Linked DNA regions of Homo sapiens: regions 2 and 3 are each linked to region 1. The links are contacts of gene promoters, found by promoter capture Hi-C in blood cells and fetal thymus (Javierre and others, 2016). All regions are on one chromosome and are shown on one strand. Each heading gives the region's core, a stretch centred on a gene start or on the middle of the fragment in contact. The rest is flanking DNA. Distances are from core to core; before and after follow the strand shown.

The links. The method cuts DNA at HindIII sites, captures the fragments that hold promoters and counts their contacts. A CHiCAGO score of 5 or more calls a contact.
Region 2: a fragment that was not itself captured here is called in contact with the fragment with the promoter of OR52B2 in region 1 in 3 of 17 cell types (monocytes, M2 macrophages and M1 macrophages); the score reaches 6.4 in monocytes.
Region 3: a contact is called between the fragment with the promoter of CCKBR here and the fragment with the promoter of OR52B2 in region 1, in 1 of 17 cell types (monocytes). The highest score is 5.2, in monocytes.

Annotation. Positions count from the first base shown.
Region 1 is chr11:6,167,654-6,172,485 of GRCh38, reverse strand. OR52B2 (olfactory receptor family 52 subfamily B member 2) reads left to right here and starts at 2,160. Exons shown (of 1, transcript NM_001004052.1): 1 at 2,160-3,131. The coding sequence starts at 2,160. The coding sequence ends at 3,131. The HindIII fragment of the contact is 5,039 bases long and covers 1-2,622 here.
Region 2 is chr11:6,054,794-6,059,625 of GRCh38, reverse strand. It overlaps the pseudogene OR52L2P. Among named protein-coding and RNA genes, the nearest start is that of OR56A1, 26 kb to the right of the region's middle. The HindIII fragment of the contact is 2,133 bases long and covers 1,115-3,247 here.
Region 3 is chr11:6,257,088-6,261,919 of GRCh38, reverse strand. CCKBR (cholecystokinin B receptor) reads right to left here and starts at 2,082. Exons shown (of 5, transcript NM_176875.4): 1 at 1,841-2,082. The coding sequence starts at 1,991. The HindIII fragment of the contact is 1,486 bases long and covers 1,388-2,873 here.

The sequences.
Region 1 (4,832 bases), core at 911-3,410:
CTCCACCCTGCCTTTGGTACTCACTGTTGGAGTGATAAAACATCACAGAGTCATAAGCAGAGAGCAGACTTGTTTTGATGAGGACGTATATCAGGTGTCTTACTGTTTTATTGAGAAGGAGTATGTTAATAACTGGAGGGGTTGGGAAAGTTGTGAGAAAATAAATGTCCAATAAATTTCCTCCTAAGGAAAATGAATTTGTTTTTTTTGCTGGGGCTTTTGCTTGTATAAATTTGAGTTCAATACTTTAAAATAGAGCCAGAGCAGTGCTACTAATGACTTCTTCTCTGTGCTCATTCCAGCAAAGCTCAGCCTCTCTTCTAAGTAGAAGTTGAACATACATATATACACACGCACATATATATATACATATATGTGTACATATAATATGTATTTTATATATATACATATATGTATATATATATATTTTAAAGAGACAGAGTCTTGCTCCATCACCTAGGCTGGAGTGCAGTGGTGCCATCATAGCTCATTCACTGCAGCCCCAAACTCCTGGGCTCAAGAGATCCTCCTGCCTCCGCCTCCAAGTAGCTGGGACTACAGGTGCGTGCCACCATTCCCGGCTAATTTTTAAATTGTTTTGTAGCGACAGGGTCTTGTTATGTTACCTAGGCAGGTCTTGAATACCTGGCCTCAAGCGATCCTCCCATCTTGGCCTCCCAAACTTCTGGGATTATAGGCATGAGACACTGTGCCTGGCCCAAATATTTAAAATATACTGACTTGAATGCTGTCAGATTATTAGCCTGCCTGCGGCCTTTACTTGTCTGGATCTGGCTCTATTCCCTTCCTTGTACCCATCTGGAGTCCCATTGCTCCCTCCCCACAGCCCACTGTGCTCTGAGAAAGTTCATTTGCATAGAGGCAGAGGGATGGACTAATAAACTGAGGATTTGATTCCTTTGCATCTCTTCTTTGGGGCCCTCTGAATACCATTATCAGAAGATCAGTCTAGTGTTTATTTGGTACCTTTATAGTTCTGATTCTCTCTTTACTGTCTCTGTGGTCCCTTTTCTTCATGTTCCCTTCTAGATTCTTAATCATACACTCTTTCCCTAGTCCTAATAGCTGACAGATAGTTCAGAACTTCAGAATGAAACAAATATTACCTGAGTGGCAGGCAAGCCAAGAAGGGCTCTATACTTAATCCTTCTTGGCAGCAGGGAAACATGGTTCCTTCTGAGCGTTGGGGAACAGTGGGGTGGGAAGAAGGGCAGTATTAGTGGAGTCAGCAGAGTTTACAGGTGGGCAATAGATTGATTTCTTTTGCTCAGAATCGTTTTCCTGGGGGGCTTCTACAGATAAGGAAGCCCAGACATAACCAAGAGGCTCCTGTATAGAAATATTTGAGGAGGAGCATGAGAAGTCCATGAGGAGCTGGTGATGAAAATTGCCTGTCTCAGTTTCATTGGCTGCCCCATTGCTCACTGCATTAGGGAAGATATGAATCTGGATCAGAGTGGAGAAATGTACCCCTCTAGGCTTCCTCTGGATTCCCACTTGATACTCTACTCCCTTGCACAAGGGGCCAGAGGTGCAAGTGTCCTGTGAAATGTTCAAGGCAATAGCCAGATAAACTTAATAGGATTAAATATAACCCAGTTAAAATATAGTTTAGTTAATAGTTTTTTAGGAAGGAGATATATTGCTATGAACACAGACCATTACAAAGTGGTATGTCTTGAGGACTTATTTTAAGGTTAAAATTTTGTTAAACAGAAGTAGAAGGGGAGGGAAATTAAAGGTAAATGCAGAACAAAATCTTGGGGAAAGGGACAAGTACAACACAGGTAGGTGGAAAATGCTGCTTGTGTGGAAATAGTAGAATGAGGTCAGAAAGGGAGAGTGAGGCCAAACTCTGGGGGCAGGGTGGTTGCAGGAAGGTGCTGCCACTTCTGTTCATACTTGAAGCATTATTGCCACAGAAGCTCTATCTGCAAAGGAAGCACTATGGGCCAGAAGCCATTCCTATACCAAGTGAACATTCTCTGGGAGTACTTGCTGCTGGAGAGTCCAGCAATTTAGAAATCCATGCTGTCTTTTATGATATTTATACATATTCGGGAGTGCTTTCTGTTTCTATCACTTTCAGTAGACTCATCAGCTTCTAAGTCATTATAGAGAGGACCATAAAGTGCATCATGAGTCACACCAATGTTACCATCTTCCATCCTGCAGTTTTTGTCCTTCCTGGCATCCCTGGGTTGGAGGCTTATCACATTTGGCTGTCAATACCTCTTTGCCTCATTTACATCACTGCAGTCCTGGGAAACAGCATCCTGATAGTGGTTATTGTCATGGAACGTAACCTTCATGTGCCCATGTATTTCTTCCTCTCAATGCTGGCCGTCATGGACATCCTGCTGTCTACCACCACTGTGCCCAAGGCCCTAGCCATCTTTTGGCTTCAAGCACATAACATTGCTTTTGATGCCTGTGTCACCCAAGGCTTCTTTGTCCATATGATGTTTGTGGGGGAGTCAGCTATCCTGTTAGCCATGGCCTTTGATCGCTTTGTGGCCATTTGTGCCCCACTGAGATATACAACAGTGCTAACATGGCCTGTTGTGGGGAGGATTGCTCTGGCCGTCATCACCCGAAGCTTCTGCATCATCTTCCCAGTCATATTCTTGCTGAAGCGGCTGCCCTTCTGCCTAACCAACATTGTTCCTCACTCCTACTGTGAGCATATTGGAGTGGCTCGTTTAGCCTGTGCTGACATCACTGTTAACATTTGGTATGGCTTCTCAGTGCCCATTGTCATGGTCATCTTGGATGTTATCCTCATCGCTGTGTCTTACTCACTGATCCTCCGAGCAGTGTTTCGTTTGCCCTCCCAGGATGCTCGGCACAAGGCCCTCAGCACTTGTGGCTCCCACCTCTGTGTCATCCTTATGTTTTATGTTCCATCCTTCTTTACCTTATTGACCCATCATTTTGGGCGTAATATTCCTCAACATGTCCATATCTTGCTGGCCAATCTTTATGTGGCAGTGCCACCAATGCTGAACCCCATTGTCTATGGTGTGAAGACTAAGCAGATACGTGAGGGTGTAGCCCACCGGTTCTTTGACATCAAGACTTGGTGCTGTACCTCCCCTCTGGGCTCATGAATCTTCATGTCCAGCTCCTTCAAGGAAGCTAGATGTGAAATACAGAGATTTCCTGGACTGAGAAGGCTTTTCTTCCTCTTCTTTCTATTTCATCTTCCGCCCCCAACTTTTCTTTCTTTTCTCATAATTCTTCCTCCTTCTCTTGTTTGTTTTCTCTAACCTCTTTACATATTCCTCCCTACAACCCAGAAATAATAACTAAGTGTACATGCCTCTGATATGAGGCTTTGGTACCCTCAGTAGACTAGATAGACGCCAGAAGCGCAGGGATCTGAACACCACATGAAATGAGGTTATAAAGAAGTGGATAAAAATAATTTTATATTTACCATTTTAAGGGGTTTTAATTTTTTAAAAAAATCCCAAATGTGCATTGATTCTTTGTACAGAATCAAGTGGCCTGCCACCCACTACCACAATGGCAGGTGAGTTTGAGGAACAGCCATGCATGACCTTTGGTCATCTGGAAAAACTTCCTTTCCTTCAAATTTTAGTTCAAGAAAAGTTGAGTCTTTTCTAATTTCTCCAGGCAAGCCAAGGGTCCTATGTTTGCATGTCTAGTGTATCTTGTACAAATCTCCAAATGTGCATAATAAATTGTAATGTAATGAGTTGTTCATTTATTTGTACCCTCAATTGACTGCAAACTCCTTGAAATCAGAAGAGTGTATATTATTCATATTTGTATCCCCAATGCATTACAAAATGCCTGACACATACTACATTTTTGAAAAATGAATGGGAGCGCAATTATCTCCTTGAGATCAGAACAGGCATCTCTATGGTACACTGAAATGACCAGCTAAATTATTTCACAAAACCAGTGATTAGTAAATCAGCTCCTCATGAAGGCAGTTTGGCATAATTGAGCCAAATCAACTGCTGATTTGCAGTACTTCTCTCTGCTGTAACTCAGGGACCAGCGAAAAGACAAAGTAGGAGGAAACAGGGTACTCTTGATTCTCTCTTATATCTAGTTTTTGACCAGACCCAGAATTAGGAATTATAGTACATTGTTCATGGCCAGGTTGGCAAAATTGGAGTACTCTCTTGGGATTCACAGTCTCAACTCTTATTCTTTTATGCTTTTCCAGAAAAGGTCATGTACACTCATTTCTTTAGCCACCACCAACACTAATGAGTCCCATATCCCTGTCTCTAGTCTAAAGCTCTCTTTTGAGTGTTAGACACATAAATCCACCTATTAACTGGTTATTCTTCCTAGGATGTAGAACTCCCACTCCACTTTTCTTCCTACATTTCATTTCTTGGGAACTAGATTATGATGATCCCATCAACTTCACTGAGCTGGAAACCCTATAGTCTTTTTCAACTTTCTCCTCTTAGGGCTGATACTCAAAAAGTTATTGGTTGATATTTATATTGATTGTACCACTAAATAAGTATATGGATAGTATTTGGACTCATATCAGGACTCAAGTCTTGTCATCATCATTTTCTAGCTATGCGAACTTGCACAGTTTGTTTAACATTTTTGGTTCTCAATTTTTAAATCTATAAAATGGGTACTTTATAGGTTACCTTCACAGGGTTATTTAGAAGATTAAATGAAATAAACCTTATGACTATACTTAACATAATCTTTAGCTCATAGTTTCTGAGAAATATTTTGTTAATACTTACTAGTATTGTTAGTCTTTTCAACACTGCCTATACAAATTACTTATGACTTTTCTCATC
Region 2 (4,832 bases), core at 932-3,431, 110 kb after region 1:
TTATGGATGAACAAAGAAGGATCATAACATACAGTGCTCGTGACATAATCACTCTTGACCTAACACAGCCAATGAGTCCTTTTGAGCAGCAGAAGAGAGTAGACTCTAAATTTTCAAGAGTGAGGAAGACCAATTCAGATAAAGGAAGTGGAAGAAAGACTACACAAAAGGCATATGTAAAATAGGAGAGTTTAGTCATATAACTCCAAGAATGTTGGAATGGTTTAGTAAAACATACATGTAGAAATATGTTAACTGTAAGACCAAAGTAATACACAATAGATAACCCTTGAAAACCTTTAATGCAGTCTTAAGAGTATGATTTTATTCCATGCAATAGATTCACTGAAGGATTTTAGCCATAGGCACGACATAACGACATCTGCATTTTAGGAAAAACCTGACTTTAAGGTTGAGAGTGAATTGGGAAGATGTTTACAGCAAAGGCAGAGAGATGTAATGAAACAGTACAGGTGAGAGAAGTTGGATGTTTGACATCGGGGGTTGAAAACAGGAGTGGATATAACAGCTATGTGTTAAAAATGCAGTTAACAGGAATTGGCGAATGGGGAAAAGGGATGAGAGATAAGAATAAGTAAAGATAGTTTCCGAGTTTCTAGATTGGGTTTGGTAGATGGATAGTAATGTAATTCATAAAAATATTGCCAAAGGTAGGTAGGACAGATTTAAGAAGGATAGATGAATTAATTTAGTTTTGAATATGTTGAGGCTATAGTATAGCTATTCAGGAAGCAAATGGAAAGAATGATTTGTGTTTCAGAAAGATATTTGACTTAGAAACACAGATTTGAAAGAAATAAAAGTAGATAGATAAAACTATGAAAGTGGATGAGGTCAATTCAGAGATAATGTACTGAATAGGGAAAAGAGGAGAGGATGGATCCCTGGAATCAACAACATAATGAGATGGAGAAAATGGTGGGACTGAGGCTATAGGAGAAACAACTCTAGAGTGCCACTTCACGGAAACTGAGGGAGGCTAATTTCAAAAACAACAGTTTAATTTACTGTGTTCAGTAACGCCAAGAGGCTAATAAAGAGAACCCTTTGAAGTTGGCAGCTTCAAAACATAAGCAACTGAATGGTTAAAGCTTATGCATCTCTCCCAAAACAGTGTATGTTTACTCTTATCTCTAAAAAAACTAGACCTATTCTAATTCAGACATGTGGATGTCTCACCTGTAAAAAAATTTATCTCCACCAAAGATTTTCTTTCTTGTATCTAACTTTATTCCCTTTGGTTGCAGTTTTAGTCACTTTATTCTTCTCATGAAGATGGTAGACAATGTGATCTGGACTATGTGATAATGTACCAGAAATGCAGAAATCATGAATTTGGATTCTTTTTTCTCTTTCCTCCTCAAGTCATTGATAATGGCGCTTAGCAATTCCAGCTGGAGGCTACCCCAGCCTTCTTTTTTCCTGGTAGGAATTCCGGGTTTAGAGGAAAGCCAGCACTGGATCGCACTGCCCCTGGGCATCCTTTACCTCCTTGCTCTAGTGGGCAATGTTACCATTCTCTTCATCATCTGGATGGACCCATCCTTGCACCAACCTATGTACCTCTTCCTGTCCATGCTAGCTGCCATCGACCTGGTTGTGGCCTCCTCCACTGCACCCAAAGCCCTTGCAGTGCTCCTGGTTCGTGCCCAAGAGATTGGTTACACTGTCTGCCTGATCCAGATGTTCTTCACCCATGCATTCTCCTCCATGGAGTCAGGGGTACTTGTGGCCATGGCTCTGGATCGCTATGTAGCCATTTGTCACCCCTTGCACCATTCCACGATCCTGCATCCAGGGGTCATAGGGCACATCGGAATGGTGGTGCTGGTGCGGGGATTACTACTCCTCATCCCCTTCCTCATTCTGTTGCGAAAACTTATCTTCTGCCAAGCCACCATCATAGGCCATGCCTATTGTGAACATATGGCTGTTGTGAAACTTGCCTGCTCAGAAACCACAGTCAATCGAGCTTATGGGCTGACTGTGGCCTTGCTTGTGGTTGGGCTGGATGTCCTGGCCATTGGTGTTTCCTATGCCCACATTCTCCAGGCAGTGCTGAAGGTACCAGGAAATGAGGCCCGACTTAAGGCGTTTAGCACATGTGGCTCTCATGTTTGTGTCATCCTGGTCTTCTATATCCCGGGAATGTTCTCCTTCCTCACTCACCGCTTTGGTCATCATGTACCCCATCACGTCCATGTTCTTCTGGCCATACTGTATCGCCTTGTGCCACCTGCACTCAATCCTCTTGTCTATGGGGTGAAGACCCAGAAGATCCACCAGTGAGTGCTCAGGGTGTTTACACTAAAGGATTGACCTGAATATATTCTCACTGTTTCCTTCAGAGGCACCTGCCAGGACATAGCCAGGAACTCATGGCTGGTGCAGATTATATGGATGGGGTAATTTTCACAGCGAGCAGTCCTTCTAGTGTCACATATCACAGCAAAGAATATCCAGAGGCACCTGGCTTCACAGCTTATTGGGATGTATCTGGATACCTGAATTTGTGAATAGTTTTTCCATTCTTTCTTTTGCTCCTGATTCCAACATTTTCCTACTCCTGTGTCAGAGAGACTTGAGGACAGTAGAAATGGATGACAGCTCTGGATGTGTCATCTTTCCTGCCATTGCCCAGTGATAGACTATGCAACATTCTCTGGAATGGCAATGGGAAGTCCCACCCTCAGCTTGGTTTTAGGTTTAGAGTGTCTTCCAAACCTCTAAGTTTGTGCTGGCAGCACATTTACATGGTACAGCCATTCAGCTAAATGCTAGTGTTAACCCTTTAGATGAACCTTTTCGTGTCTTTTAGGATGACTTAGATTCCTTTACTTTTCTGCCACATCAAAATGCATAAATTAGGACATTTCTAAAATATTTATTATGCATATTATAAATGACTTTTTTCTTGCATTTACTCTTTTCTTTAAGGGATGAGTTTCTCCGCTTGTTCAGCCTGGTCCTTTCTTCACGATACTAGTTTTTTCTCAATTATTTGTAGATTTTTACTCTTATTTGTTTGTAGATGAGAATTAAATGGTTGGGTCCTCGCTGTGAGTTTTCTCAGAGCCTGTAAAGGTCACTGCTCTTGTGCCCCAATTGTAGGACTTTGTAGGTCATTGTACACGGATTTGCTAACAGACAGAATTCTCCTCAGGCTGTCAAGAGGAAAATGAAAGATGAGCTGCATTCCCTCATCTTTTGCTGAAGTAGAGAAGCTTTTATATCTGCAATCAGAGATAATCTGGTATAGTTTGCTGACCTGTGGAGCTGCCTCTCCATACCTTTTCTCTATTTGTAACTTGGAGAACCAAAGTTACCTTGTAATTGCCTCTGATTACATCTGCCCCACTGCAATTATAGGGTTTGAAGATACAAAGTTGCCTCTTGCATTTTATAGGGAGCCAGGTTTCATACTAAACTGATCCAATTGCTGGAAGTAGAATAACAATAAATTAATCAATGCACTAATTAATTGCTTTCAATTACTGTTATCATTTTATTGATTTTAAACTTGGAGTATCCCTTGGGATCTCTTAAAATTTTTAGATTTTAAAAATAGATTCAGGGGTTACATATGCAGGTTTGGTACAGGGATATATTGTGTAATGATGAGGTTTGCACCCTGAATCTCTTAATGAGAACATTTCCCAGCCCTGCATCAAGCTTTAACTTTTCCAATTCCTCTTCCCCTATAGTTCCCACCCTCCACATATACATAACTACACATTGGTTTGCAGGTTTTTGGGTCCCAGTTTTTCTATGAATCCAATTTAGTCTGATTTATGAATTCCAAAAATTTCTCAAAGTATATGATGCAATCCAAGTATATTTGCTCATATTCTATATTGTTATTGCATTATTTTCATTTTTATATTTCTTTAGCAATTTAATGGGTACACTGGGAGAGAGAGAGGAAGTAAACAGTGTTTGCAATCCAATGTCTTGAATTGGAATGATTACAATTCTAGCAAAATTTGTGATATTACTTGTGCTGTGTATATCTTTCATGCTAGATTGTAGGCTTCAGGGAGGCAGGATTCTTTTGTCTTCCATGTACTTCTCATTACCAAGTGCCTGTCATTTTTCAACACAATATACACCCTCAATAATTATTTGTGATAAGAAATATTATAGTCAATGAATACACAAAATTGATACCTCTGCAGTGAGTGCTCAGTTTTTCCTTTTAATAATTTTTAGTGTCATTTTCTATGTAGGACTAGGGGAACAGATCTCCCATTCTAGAATTAGATCCTTCTCCACCTGGAGGAGACAGGGTACGTTTTTGAGAGGAAGAAGCTCAGTAGTGCTGTCAGAGATTAAAAGTGCAGATTTCTCGCTAGCCCATTCACACTCTTAGCAGTAGCGAATGTCCACAAGGAATTAAATAGGGGTCAAAATCATAACAATTAGAACCCAGTAACTTCCATATCCAGGATTGTCTGGTTATTCATGGTTGGAAAATACAAGTGGGACCAGGGGACAAACAAGAGACCCTCAATTCCCTTCCCTTAATTCTAGATCTTGAGATTTCTTCCTACTCCCTTCCCCTATCCATGAGGAGATTTGACCTGGAAAATTAGGCTCCAAGTATAATTTGCCAGCCATCTGCACGGAGGACTATAGGACCCCATAAACAGAACCCCTAGCAGAACATAAAATGCAATACAGATCACGGTTATCTTCTAGGTTTCTCTCCCTAGAAGGAAAATCATGGGCTTTTCTGCAGGTGAGGTTATGGTATTCGAGTATAAAGCAAAGGAGTCCACTGCCATCCTTACATATCCATGAGGCAGGCAGTG
Region 3 (4,832 bases), core at 833-3,332, 90 kb before region 1:
CCATCTCCCTTGCCATTACCTTAGTCTCAGCTAGCATCATCTTTCACCCAGAACAGTGTAATATAGTAACCTTGTAAAGTATCCCCCTGCCTTCCATCTTATGTCTTCCAATCCGTTCTCCACATTATAGAACTAATCCTGGTAGTACTACCGAATCTTTTAGTAGTTCCTATTGCCCTCGGGAGAAAGTCCATGTTCCATGGTCAGGCCTAGCAGGCTCTCTGCAAACCCTCTAGGCTGGTCTCCAGCCTGTTCATTATTCCCTTCTTAAGATATATGTTCTAGTCACTCAAAACTATGTCACAGTGGATAAAAGTGCCATGAATTCAAACTTTGAGCTTCTTATACATCTTGTCCTTTTATTTGGGATGCTTTCTGCCTCTTCTGCCCGTTCACTTGGCTGGCTCTCCCATATGTATATGTGTGTGTGTGTGTGTGTGTGTGTGTGTGTGTGTGTATATATATTTTTTTTTTTTTTTTTTTTTGCCAACAGGAAGCTTAGAGCCAGCCTCCCTAATTTTTTTGACTTTGTAGCTCATTTCCTCAAGAGGCCAACTTTAATTCTCAAGGAGGCTGGGCTGGGCTAGAGGTGTTCCACTTGTGTTCCCACTATCTTTTCCCTGTCAAGGCTCTTCCACTTTGTGCTGCAATCCCCTGCTTTTCTGTCTCGCCCATTAAACTTTGAGCTCTGTGAAGTAGGAATTGTGTCGGTTTTGTTCAACTTACATTCCCACTGCCTAGCACAATCTCTGGTTCAATAAATATTGGCTGAATGACAGAATCCAAGTGTGAGTGTGTAACAACTCGGCTGAGAAAGCATAGATTATTTCGTGGGGTAAATAAATACTTGGATTACAATTTATTCCAACTTTCCCTTTTTGAGTTTAGAAAAATTTCCTTCTGCTTAACATTGCTCCTTCACCTAGAATCCCACTCCTTCCTTTTCTGCCTACTCAACTTCAAGACCCAGCTCTAAGGTTCTAGCCTCTGTGAAGTTCTTTTGGTGCCCACAGTTTAGACCCTTTCATGGGACTTCCATTGTGTCTGTGATTTTTCCATTTGCTTGGTTTCTCTCTGCACTTGGCTATGGGCCATGAGGGTCCAGACTGGGTCTAGTTTGCCCTGTGCCCCCAGCACCTAGCCTAGGGCTGGAGAGAGAGCTTGGAAGATAGCTGGAGACATTACTTGCAGACAAAGAGAGAGGGCACAGAGCCTCGAAAGCTCCAACTAGGGAGGCAGAGGGGTTTGAGAAGGAGTGAAATGGAGGCAGGCAGCTCTAAGGAGCATCCCCTAGTGTCCAGCCTAATTCAGATTTGAGGATCTTTTTTGGGATGGCTGGGGGCTGGGGTGTCAGATGTGATCACAACTTCAGCTTCGCATTCAAGCTTTCCAGAGTGCTCCCTCCCTCAACCAGCCCCCTTCTTTTCCCAGTCCTGCCTTCCTTTCTTCCTTCCCTTCTCTGTTGTGGCTCTGTGAACTGGATGTAAGAGGGAAAAGGAGATCTGCAGGGTTGGCAAGAGGAGGTCCTCGCCTTCTGACTGGTGTCTAGGAGGGGCTGCGTGTTGGGGAAGGGGCTGTGCTTTGGGGTGAGCAGGGGCTCTAGGTGTATTCAGGGGACCAGGATGTGAAGGAGTTCCGACCAGGTGGTGTGAAGCTGTGATGAAGTTGTAGGCTGTGGGGGTGAAGGTGTGAGGGGAGCTGTTTGGGGGCTGAGGGAGTACTATGAGAGGCACGGTGTGGACGTTTGAGAAGGTAGTGTGGAGCTCGTTGGGGGGACTCTATTAGTGTTCTGGGGTACAGTGAGAAATAGCTTGTGGGGGGGGCTGAGGGAGGCACCCACCTCGTGTCCCGGCTCCGCGAATGCGAGGGGGCTCGCAGCTGAGGTTGCCCACACTGCTGCTGTTGAGGAGAGGCGCCCCCGGGCGGCACAGGGAAGCCCCCGGCCCGGGTCCGGTTCCCTGCACGCTCCGGTTCAGCTTTAGCAGCTCCATGGCCCCCGCCGAGCCCGCCGCCTTACTCAGCTCGACCCGGCGGGCTCCCAACGCGGCTCCACCTGCTCACGCTGCGATTCCGGCTCAGGCTCCCGCCGCCCTCCTCTCCCTGCCCCCTGCCCCGCCTGGTCCCCGCCCCCAGCCCAGGCGCCTGCCCTCCACTCTCCCGCGGCTCGCCCCGCCTGGGTTCCCGTCCCTCCGCCAGCCTCTGTCCCGCCAGGTGACTGTGCACCCCCTCCCTGGCTCGGGAGTTCTGCCCCTCCCTGTGCGACTGTCCTCCAGGCTCGCCCCCTCCCTAGATGTGTCCCGTCTCCTCTTAGAGATTTCTCTCCTGCCCACCTCTCTTTATCACCCGCCCCCACCCCCGATTCCCAGGAATGAGAGAGAGAGAGAGAGAGAGAGAGAGAGAGAGAGAGAGAGAGAGAGATTGAAGACAAGAGTATTGGCAGCGTAGGGGGAGGTTTCGGGGAAGGGAGGGTAGGAGGGGTTGGGTAGAGACGGCTGCCACGGATCCAGCATCTTTCTCTGGTGTATCAGGGAACGTGGAGGTGGCGTTGGAGACCAGGTCTGCGTGCGTCACCTGCTGAGGCGCGGATGCTTTAGTCTGAGCCTAGAGCCGCATTTACCGTACTGTGTTGCAGTGGCCGCAGTGACCGTGACACTATTGCTACCGTAGTTCCCTGCAGCTCCTCGCTGCGGGCCTGGGGTAGCTCCTGCATCTGTCTCCGCACCCTCCATCTCCTGTCTGAGGCTTAACACTCAGGCTTGCACTTAAGGGTCCCAAGGAGCCCTCCACAGCTGGGCGGGAGTGGGGGTGGGGCCGGGGCCGAGATTTGGCTCCAGGGAAGCCTTGCCAGGGAAAAGGGCTCCCGGGAGGAAGCTTCTGACTTGAGTGTTGAGGGCAGTTGGGGGTGGTGGCAAGCACTGACAAGGATAAACCAGAGTAAGGTGAGGATGGGATATAATTCTAACGCCGGCCCAGCGCAGGCAAAAGAGAAGGAGAAGGTTGGCTTTCTCCACCGTCTCCAGGCAGCGCCCACGCCCACCCGACACGCTAACGCTCCCTGTTTGCTCTCAGTGCAGGCAGAGCTGCCTGTGTAGGGTGTCAGGTTCCCACGAGAGGGGGCTAGAAGGGGACTGGGTCACTGCGGTGCAGCGGGAACAGGGCTGAAGGGTGCAGGACTGAACTGGGTTCAGCTTCTCGGGGCAGGATTTGCCTCTTCTACTATTTCAGCCCTGCTCCCTATGCATTCTCCTATCCATTCCTTTTCTTCCCCAGATTCCTATCTCCAGATTCCTATCTCCAGATTCCTATCCATTCTTCAGATTCCGGATGAACTCCAATACGATGTGAAATTCTTCTGACCCCCAGCAGTAGCTGTAAGAGGTTGGGGGCGGGCATCAGTGGAAGAGCAAATTAGAGAATGGAGTCTGGCTTTATGGGGGATTCAGCAGGCCCTTATCCAATTAATCTTTTGGAGAGGACCTGGTTCAGCCAGCCCTGAGTTTATAGGGGCTGAAGCATTGAAAGAGAGTTGAAAGACAGTTTATGCCTGAGATGTCATCAACTGCTCCCCCTTTCCTTCCTCCTGGTACTGCCTGTCTTGCCCATCAGAGAGCCTGGACCAGAGGAGCTTGATTTGCTATTTGTTCCGCTCCAGCACAGGTGGGGCCTCAGATAACCTGCTCAAGTTTTCCCACATTGGATGACAGTACGATGAGGAGGGAAGGGAGCAAAGGATGTAAGGGAGAGGGGAGTGAAAATAGAAATAGATGGACATTCACTTATTTAGCAAACTATGCCAGTTCTAGGGGTATGCACTAGTTGTCCAATATAGTTTGCCCCTCAGTAGCACCTACTCTAGTGGGATTTTCCCAAGCAAGCCAATGATTGTAATATATGGTCGTTAAGTGCACCCACCAGGATGTACAAATCAGAAATTTAGGAATTATTATTGATGCCTTACTCCCCTATGCTCCTTCACCCCTGCGCTGGATGCTGTGATGCAAAGCCCAGAACCCTCTTCAAAAATGGAGGATTTATTTTCCAGCTGTGGAGAGTGCTCCTAAAAGATGGCCCTCAGCTGTCATAACCCTTCAGGAGTTGCCTAAGCAGAAGAAAGCCAGCTCATCCAAGGTTATGCTCCCTTTCTTGGGCATTCTATATCCAATGACCGATCAGCACAGAGGTATAAAAGTTTAATCCCCTCAACCCAGTGGTGGACAACTCTGAAAGATGCTCACACCCCTAGAACCCTTCATATGGTTGACTGAGGTCTTTGCTGGGACTGAATTACTACTCAGCTTCTCCTTTTGCCCAATCCTATTTTCATCCTCTCTCTTGCACAGGTGTTAACTCCAAGAACGCTCCTTAGTAAACATCCTCCACAGTAATCTTTGTTTGAGAGTCTGCTTCCTGGGGAACATAACTACATCACTCCCATATTGAATCAATCACAAAGTCCTGTTCATTTTAGCTACTGAGTGTTCCTTGAATCTGCCTGCTTATATGTCCACTGATATTACCCTACTCTTGAACCACACTCCTAACCTCCTAAATGGGCCACCACATTTTACTGATGCCTCTCTACATCTATACTTCACCTTAAAGCCGAAGTACTATGCTCAGAATACAAATCTGACTATCCCACTCTTTTGACCTTTGCTTTTGGGAATGAGAAAACATATTAACAGAATTTAGAAAGCCTGTGAGGCCTGGCTCCCACTTACCTCTCTAGCCACATTATTTCAAATCACATTATTTCAAATAAGAGTCACAATGATTCTTATTCTCTCCACTGTAAACACATTAGCCTTTTTTTGGTCACTCCTTCTTTTTTC